Regions from separate parts of the Homo sapiens genome. Here region 1 is linked to region 2. The links are contacts of gene promoters, found by promoter capture Hi-C in blood cells and fetal thymus (Javierre and others, 2016). All regions are on one chromosome and are shown on one strand. Each heading gives the region's core, a stretch centred on a gene start or on the middle of the fragment in contact. The rest is flanking DNA. Distances are from core to core; before and after follow the strand shown. Region 1 overlaps DNAJC21 (DnaJ heat shock protein family (Hsp40) member C21). Region 2 holds the start of ZFR (zinc finger RNA binding protein).

Region 1 (4,867 bases), core at 1-2,500, 2.5 Mb after region 2:
ACTCAGATGATCCTCCCATGTCAGCCTCCCAAGTAGCTAGGGCTACAGGAACCTGCCATCATGGCCAGCTAAAAAACTGCAGTTACTTTTGCACCAACCTAAATATTTTCTTTGGAGATGGGGTTTTGCCATGTTGTCCAGGTTGGTCTTGAACTCCTGGATTCAAGTGTTCCACCTGCCTCAGCCTTTCAAAGTGCTAGGATTGCAAGCGTGAGCCACTGCATCCAGTTAAAAGGAGTAAGTTTAGTATCTCTGAACTTGTGTTTTCTTTTTTTTTTTTTTTTTTTTTTTGGAGACAGAGTCTCACTCTGTTGCCCCGGCTGGAGTGCAGTGGCACGATCTCAGCTCACTGCAACCTCCACCTCCTGGATTCAAGCGATTCTCCTGCCTCAAGCTCCCGAGTAGCTGGGACTACAGATGCAGGTCACCGCACCCAGCTAATTTTTGTATTTTTAGTAGAGACAGGGTCTCACCATGTTGGTCAGGCTGGTCTCAAACTCCTGGCCTCAGGCGATCCACCCACCTCGGCCTCCCAAAGTGTTGGGATTACAGGCGTGAGCCACAGCGCCTGGCCCTTGTGTTTTTTTTTGAGGTGAAGTGTAACATTTTGAAAGTTCTAAAAACAATGTGCTTGTAGCAGTTGATAACTAGCCCCACATACTGTCTCGGGGGATTCCTTTCCAGCAGGGTAGAAAGAGGTATTTGTACCTGCCATTAAACCTGTTGTACTGATTGTCACTCATCCCAGTATTCCTATAGCTGCTTTTAAAACACATGCACTGTCTCCAGAAGCATTGCTTGTTTTGGCAAAGAAGACATAGTCACATGGGCAAAAAGTCTAGACCGTGTCTAATCATCTCCCTCCATCATTGGTGTCAGACTCACTTCCCACCATCATTGTCCCATGCAGGCTGATGCTGCCAATATAGGGGCTTTAAACTTGTCTGGCCCAGAGTATCTTTGCTGAAGTGGAAGAACTTTATCTTAGGGGAACAATGATGAAGAAAGAAGTATTAAAACGGATACCATTATTATAAAGGAGGGAGGAAACAACACGGGAGAAAATGGGAGTAGAATCAGCAAGGGAAAAAAAGCAAAATGGGCAATCAGAGAGAAAGGAGGCCAAAGGATGAGAATGGCGCTGTGAGAGTCATAAATGGTATTACCATATGACCTCAGGGAGAAATGACAGAGTACTAGGGGAAGTGGAAAGAGGCAGAAAAATTAGAAACAAGCAAGAAAAAGGTCAACAATGAAGGAGATTAAAAATTTTTTTTTATTTGGAAATGACACACTTAAAGGTAAATTGCAAGAAGAGAATATAGTGTGTCTGATTGACCTGTTACTAACGTTTTGCACAATTTGCATGTCCTCTTTCTCTCTACACGCTCAACACACACACAGTATTTTTCTGAATAATTTGAAAGTAACTTACATATATAGTGTTCCTTTACCTCTAAATACTTCACTATATCTTAAGAATAAGGTTATTCTCGCTGGGCGCAGTGGCTCACGCCTGTAATCCCAGCACTTTGGGAGGTTGAGGTGGACAGATCACCTGAGGTTGGGAGTTTGAGACCAGCCTGACCAACATGGAGAAACCCCGTCTCTACTAAAACTACAAAATTAGCTGGGCGTGGTGACGCATACCTGTAATCCCAGCTACTCAGGAGGCTGAGGCAGGAGAATCGCTTGAACTCAGGAGGCGGAGGTTGTGGTGAGCCAAGATCGTGCCATTGCACTCCAGCCTGGGCAATAAGAGCAAAACTCCGTCTCAAAATAAAAAAAAAAAGTAAGGTTATTCTCTTATGTAACCATGCTACAGTGACCAAATAAAAGAAATTATTAACATTGATATGGTATTTTTATCTAATTTACTACCTGCATTCCAATTTTGCCAATCAATTATTTATTAATATAGAATTTTTCTCCAATACAGAATGCAGTCTAAGAACATAATCTGGAACAGCTTGTGTTGTCTTTTATGCTGTTTACATTTTAGAAGTACACTGTTTTCACTTTTTTCATAGAATTCTTCTCATTTTGTCTTTGTGCATTTCCTCATGATTAGATTCAGGTTATGCAGCCCCAGGAGGGACGCCGCACAAGCATGTTGTGCTCTCAGGGATTCATAGCTGGAGACACGTAAAGTCCTTCTACCCCTCATTTGTCGTGATAATTTTCATCACCCAATCAAGGTGTCATCTAATTTTACTACTATACTACTAATTTTACTATAGAGTTAGTATTTTTTCCCTTGCAACAGGTTTTCCCTTGTAACATGTTTAATCTGTGAGGAGACACTTTAAAACTATGCAGATATCTTGCTTCTCATAAAAGTTTTCCTCATAGCTTTAGCATCTGTTGATGGTTTTAGCTTGCGTCAGTCTTTTTTATGATGGTTGCAGAATGATGCTTTTCCAGTGCCAGTACCCCCTCAAGTTTTTATCAGTTAGCACTTGGCCTTCTGCTGTAAACAGGAGCCTTCCCTTTTATCCATTTATCTATTATCAGTTTGAATTTATTTCTTTTTTTCAGTGTTTTATAATTCATTACTGACCTTTTCATGCTCAAATTTTTCCAGAATTGGTTAGTGAGCATTCCTTCAAACCACCCTTGTGTCCTTTTGACATGTGCTTATAACTTTTTTGGAGGACTTACTTTCAGACACAGGATCTTCCATTATCTCCAGGGCAGCTTGGTCTCAAGGAGAATTTTAGTAGGAAAGAAAAACAGCAACTAAAACTATAATACCAAAAGCCTGAACAGATGAGATGAAGTAGATAGTTGACAAAGTTTCCTGCTTTTTAGTTGATATAACTCTTGTAGCTTATGTTGTCAACCCTGTTTTGTTGAATGCTTTTTAGTTGCCTGTAGGTGTGCTGAGACAGACATTGCCAGCAGGGTTTTGAACACAGGGATAGAGATGTGTCTGAATGTACGTTACGGTGGTGAGAGTGAGAAAGGAGACCTCTCCTGAGAAGGTGAAAAGCAGCTGTTGAAAAAGCAAGAGGCAGTAAACTGCTCTTGTATTTCAAGCCTTCCCACCACCATTTCTCTAGTCCAGGGGGCTCTTCCTTTTAACATTAAAATGTGTGTCTTCTAATTTCCCAGTGATCCCTCCAAGTCTGTGGGATGGCCTGGAATGTAAAAACACTTAGCAAATACTTAGTGATTAAAAGAAAACAATGGCGGAAGCTTTAAGAATTGAAAAATCAAAATAATAAGTAGAGAATTTGTCCAAACCTCCCCCTGCCGACATTCCCCCATCCCCAGAAAGGAAGAAAATGTATGTAGATAAAAGGACAGAGAAAGACAGGGAAAGCTGTGGTACGGAAAGAAAGAGTGTGGCCACGAGCTTCCAGTATGCTCACTGCCAAGGAATCCTGACACGTTCTGTTTCTCTGTATAAAATCATGAACAAATAAAAAAAAAGAAAAAAATAAATAGAATCAGAAACGTTTTGCTTAGTGGGAAAAAAGCTAATTTTATCTTGGTTGCAGTTATCCAGCAACATTATCTGGACACGTGAACTAATTTTAGCGCAGCTGCTCACGTCAGATTGCTCTTTCAGCATGAAGAATCACGAGAAGTCAAAGAAGCATCGGGAAATGGTGGCCTTGCTAAAACAACAGCTGGAGGAGGAAGAAGAAAATTTTTCAAGACCTCAAATTGATGAAAATCCATTAGATGACAATTCTGAGGAAGAAATGGAAGATGCACCAAAACAAAAGTACTTCTAAATATTAAATGTCACTAGAAATACTTATCACATTCAGAGATTGCATTAAAAGGTTTTTTTTGAGATGGAGAATCACTCTGTTGCCCAGGCTGGGGTGCAGTGGCGCAGTCTCAGCTCACTGCAACCTCCAACTTGTGGGTTCAAGTGATTCTCCTCCCTCAGCCTCCCAAGTAGCTGGGACTACAGGCACACACCACCACGCCCAGCTAATTTTTGTGTTTTTAGTTGAGACAGAGTTTCACCATGTTGGCTAGGCTGGTCTTGAACTCCTGATCTCAGGTAATTCACCTGCCTCAGCCTCCCAGAGTGCTGGGGTTACAGGTGTGAGCCACTGCGCCCGGCCTTAAAGGCTGTTTTATCCCAAGGAAGTTATTCTAACTAGAAAAGATTGTCTCCATATTTTCTAGTTAATGGAACTTTATAGTGTTGAAGTGGATACAGACGTCAACTATAATATTTATAGAACATATTATCACTATATTAAAAGCAGTTTTTATACCTGGCAGTTGATAAGCTAATTACTATCCATTGAACTACAGCCTTGTGTTATTCTCTAAAATGACAATGTGAATACTTTATTTTCCTTTTAATGCTTTAAGATATTAAATATTTTTAATCTTTTACTTCTGTTTTACTACTTTATCACTAGTGTTTCAACTTTTTTTTTTTTCCACTTACTCTTCACAGAGTCAAGTATTTGACATTTCGATTTATATTTGCTCTTAGGCTTTCTAAAAAACAGAAGAAAAAGAAACAGAAACCAGCACAGGTATGTTAGAAAGGTTTTGTTAACATTAAATGCCAACGATAAAGTTGCAGTGCTCTTATTTATTCAGTGTAGTCTGTGTTAAGGAGAGAAACTTATACTCCATAATTTTATGTTGATTGTAAGATTGATTAAAAAGGAATTAGAAATATTTTCCTTTTTTAGTGCTTCCCCCCCCTTGTATGTATGTAATAACAAACTTAATTATGACTGCCAGTGTGTTTAACAAGTATGCATGTAGAATTCCCCTGGTATGAATTAGCTGAATTTTCAGTATTTTAAAAATCTGAATACATCTCACAAAAGGCTTTTAAGTCAAGACAACAATTAAAATCTTGAAATAGGAAAATCTGGGATTG
Region 2 (4,313 bases), core at 653-3,152:
TTTGCCCAGCATCTCATTTTACAGATGATGAACATGAAAACCCAACTATATGATGTTCCCAACGTCATAAAATCAAGAGCAAAAGAGGCCAGGTGTGGTGGCTCATGCCGGTAATCCTAGCACTCTGGGAGGCCGAGGCAGGACTCTGCCCAGGAGTTCGAGATCAGCCTGGGCAACATAGGTCCTTTCTCTCTAAGAAAAATTATTTATTCAAAAAAAAAAAATCAAGAGCAAAAGAGACTGAACTCGGGTCTTCTGGCTCCCAATGATGCCCTTTCCATTAAACACCGTGCCTCCTGAAGTAAATCAAATGAAAAAAACTGCCTGGGTTTAACCAACATCTAACATACATAAAAAGCATATCACGCAGGAGCCGTGTGCGCTTATGGCCTGAATCAAAAGTCTCAGATTGACTCAAAAGTAACAATTTAACAATCCACTGTTGTGTTTGTCTTTGGTAAGATGTATAATGAACTACAGACTTCAGAAATGAGAGCTTCCCTTAAAGCAGGGATTTCATCCGGTGCATTACAATGACTCAGTACAATCTCACTTGCATCTTCTTCCCTCCCCACCATTCCCCGCAGGGGAAAGACCCCCGCAAGGAGAATGACAGGCCCACCTGGGGCCTAAACTCCATAGCTCAAACAAGGCTGGGCACTCATTTATCAGCACTAGAAACTTCGCACATCTTTTCCAGTCTAAGAACTACACAATTTACAGGTGGTTGGTATGTGAATCTCTCTCCTTGCAGGAAAAACTAAAGGAACCCGATGAACACAGTGACACCCGCAGTTTGTCAGCAGGACTCGCTAGCGATGGAGCGTCTGGGGAAGAAGCCCCACGGCGGAGGAAAAGGTACCCGAGACAACGACACGTTATCTGGGCTCCGGGGGTTGAAGCACCAGGCGACGACGCAGAGAGGCGTCGCACGAGAAGCCAGTGGACCTGCGACACGGCACTCCCCGTGAGGTCCCTTCAGCCACCCTCTCCATCCCCCAAGTGGGAAGAAGATGGGAGGTGGGGGCTGGACGCGCGGAGGCGGGGACTGGGGGGCCTGCCGGGCGGCGGTGGCGGCTCCGCTCGGCGGCCGCAGGAGGCCATTTTAGTTAAGGGGCCGCTGAAGGGCCCTGAGGCCTCCACGTCCCTACACCTCCGCCGTCTCTACCTCCCCCCTACTGGGGGCCGCTCCCCGCCGCGGGCCGGGCCGGGCCGGGCAAGGCGGGGCGGGGCGGGGCGGGGCGGGAGAGGCCGCCGGGCTGGGCCGGGCCAGGCCTGCAGCGGGCCGGGGCTCTGGGATGGCTGGGGACGGGCGCGGGGGCGTCGCATCGACAGGATCCGGACCGAGGGGAGAGCAAGGGGCGAACAGAGAGAAGGCAGGATGCCGTTACCTATATTGGGCCGCAGCCGCCGCCGCCGCCGCCCCGCTGTGGGTGAATCCAAAGTAGTTGCCGGTCGCCATTTTGGCATCTTCCCCCAGCCGGCTGGGCACTGCGGCGGGCACGAAGAGTCGGGTCCCATGGCGGGACAAGAGACACAGAGGAGCCGAGACGCCGAGGGAGGGCAGGGAGAGAAAGAGAGAGGCGCCGTGAGAGCAGCCCTGGCGGGGCCCAGGCCGCGGCCGCGCCGCCTCCCCCTCCCGCCTCGCACTCCCTCACTCACTCGCACGCCCGGGTGGCGGCCGCCGCCTCCTCCCCGGAGCCTGCCCCAACCCCCGCGGCTCCCCGCTGCCCGGGGCCAGGGAGGGGGCCGGGCAGAGGCCTCGCGGGCCACATTAGACTCACCATAGGTGAAAGAAACTACAGGGCATATGGGAATCATGGGCTCGGGCTGCTGCTGCTGAACTCTGAACTCTCACCCGCTGCCTCCCTCCTCTGCCCCGCTCCTCCTCAGCGGAGAACAGACCGCCGCCTCCGACCGCACTGCGCAGGCGCGCCTGTGCTCGGCATCCTGGGAGCTGTAGTCCCCGCCGTCTTCGCGGCTCCCCCGGGCGCGTGCCGGGGCCTCGGCGGTGCGGGCGCGGGGAAGCCCGCGGGGGAAGAGGGGCCTGGCCTTCTCCGAAGTGGTGGTGACGCCGCGCGGCCGCGGGGCGACGGGGGCGTGTGCCAGAAGCGCCTCGCCTGTCCTCTGGGGAGTCGGGGAGCGTGACCAGAGAGAGTGACGTCTGTTCGCCTTTTTCTTTGCTTTCCACTGGCTTCCTTAACTTTTGCATGTGCACTTATTCCCTGCCTCCCTGTCTTCCTCGCTCATTAATTTTTCATTGGAATTCGAGCTGGGCAATTTAGGATTTTTCCTTATTTCCTGCTTTCCCGCAGCTTTTCCCCAACCTCTGAAGTGCGGAGGGAGGGAGAAGGAGAGGAGAGAAATAGAAAAAGGATGGAGAGTGCTTTTCTGTTGGACTAAAAGCACACCCTAAACATCCCTCCCGGACATACCTCTTGCTATACCCTTTCCTCGACCTGCACCCACTCCCTGAGCCATCCGGCGTATATCGGTCACCCAGCAGGGTGTCAGGCAGTGTTGTAGGTGCTGGAGATACGGCAGAGAACAAAACAAAGTCCCTGTTCCCGTGGAGTTTACGTTCTAGGAGCGGGTATATGTCAGCCAACAGCCGGTAGCCAAAACACAGAAATTCTGTCTGATGGTGACTGGAGCTTCAAGCATAAATAAAGCAGAGTAAGGAAAATAAGGGTAAGGGAGGTGCTATTTCATGTAGAGTGTGGTTAGGGAGACCACTTGAAGGAAGGAAGGACAGGCCTGGGAGATGCCTGCAGGAAGAGCAGCAAGTGGAAGGGTCCAGATGAAGGAATGAATGTTCAAGAGCAAGAAGATCAGTCTGGCTGGAGTCAAGTGAGAGGGAGACCAGATCACGTGCCAGATCTTTAGTGGTAAGGACAGAACAGTACTTGCCCCCATGTAAGCATTTCCTCTTTCCCTCTGTTTCCTCGCTTTCTTCCCTTTAGTTTCTCAGTTCGTTTTCAACCATTCTCTTTCCTCTTCCAGTCCCTCTTCTGATCGTCTAGTTTCTCTGGCCTTATGTTTCGTGTCTTCCATCAAGTACATATGTACTGCCTGCATTTCACCTCTTCCTTACCTTCTCCATGCCCATCCCCCAGACTCCCTGCTCCTCATCTCTCCTCATTGTTGGATATGAACATTAAAAGGAAATGCTGGCCGGGCGCGGTGGCTCACGCCTGTAATCCCAACACTTTGGGCGGCCGAGGCGGGTGGATCACGAGGTGAGGTCAGTGGCCAACATGGTGAAACCCCGTCTCAAAAAAAAAGAAAAAAAAAAAAAGCCGGGCGTGGTGGCGGGCGCCTGTAGTCCCAGCCACTCAGAAGGCTGAGGCAGGAGAATCGCTTGAACCCTGGAAGCAGAGGTTGCAGTGAGCCGAGATCGCGCCCCTGGACTCCAGCCTGAGCGACAGAGCGAGACTCCGTCTTAAAAAAAAAAAAAAAAAGGAAAGGAAAAAAAAGAAATGCAAAGGGTGAATCAGAACCCACCCATGAAATTCAGGGCTTTGTCCTACTTTCTTGTGCCAGAGCAGAAACAATGCCTCAATTCTTTTTTGTGCCAACCTTGCTCCCCACGCCTCCTACAAAAGTACAGGCTCTCAGAACCTGTCTGATTTGTCCTGTTACTCATTTCAGAAAGAGAAAATGTAGAACCTTGGAGAAAAGTTAAGTGTCATTATTTTTGAGAATACTGATGTTTTCCCAGGCAAAAGTTATTTGTGCCCCAAGGATGTTGCTAGGAAGAAATACCTCCTACACATAGGACATTAGAACTGTATTTTAAAGGTATTTTGCCTTGAACTTCATTGAGCAGTCAAGCTTCAAGACACTGACTGTAACTGCTTTGATGAACCGGCTCTATTAGTTACTAGGCTATTTGAATAAAACTGGAGGAGAAAAGACAGGTGTTGATTACTTGCCTAAAAAGAGTCTGTGTAGGCCAGTTTTATGCTTGTTTGCTTGGCAGGCCTTTGGAGGCCGGCGTGCTACTGGCACACCCCAATGAGCAAGCACATAACTAGAAAGAGGAAGACGGGGCCTCTCCCCTGGTTCTTAGGGGTCAAAGTAGGTGTGGCAGTAGTGAAAATTATTTACAACAGCACTCTCAAAGATGCAGCCTGTAGGAACAACCTTTCAGTATCGCACCTACTTGCCCTTGACTTGGGCTCCTTTAAGGAAGGAGTTTTGGAGGGTCTTGAATATTTTTCCTGGGCATCTAGTAGTGGAGTAACCTGAACATGTTATTTAACCTATCTGAACCCATACGGCAAGAATAACAATAACATCTTCCTGATGGG

What was found. Contacts are between HindIII fragments. The CHiCAGO score rates a contact against its expected background, and 5 or more counts as called.
Region 1: a contact is called between a fragment that was not itself captured here and the fragment with the promoter of ZFR in region 2, in 1 of 17 cell types (total CD8 T cells). The highest score is 5.9, in total CD8 T cells.

What each region holds. Positions count from the first base shown.
Region 1 is chr5:34,941,293-34,946,159 of GRCh38, forward strand. It overlaps DNAJC21 (DnaJ heat shock protein family (Hsp40) member C21), which reads left to right. Exons shown (of 12, transcript NM_001012339.3): 8 at 3,575-3,733; 9 at 4,469-4,511. Among named protein-coding and RNA genes, the nearest start is that of DNAJC21, 14 kb to the left of the region's middle. The HindIII fragment of the contact is 3,892 bases long and covers 1-3,196 here.
Region 2 is chr5:32,442,838-32,447,150 of GRCh38, forward strand. ZFR (zinc finger RNA binding protein) reads right to left here and starts at 1,903. Exons shown (of 20, transcript NM_016107.5): 1 at 1,785-1,903; 2 at 1,392-1,491. The coding sequence starts at 1,821. RefSeq lists silencers at 946-1,285, 1,516-2,205 and an enhancer at 997-1,554. The HindIII fragment of the contact is 7,512 bases long and covers 1-3,832 here.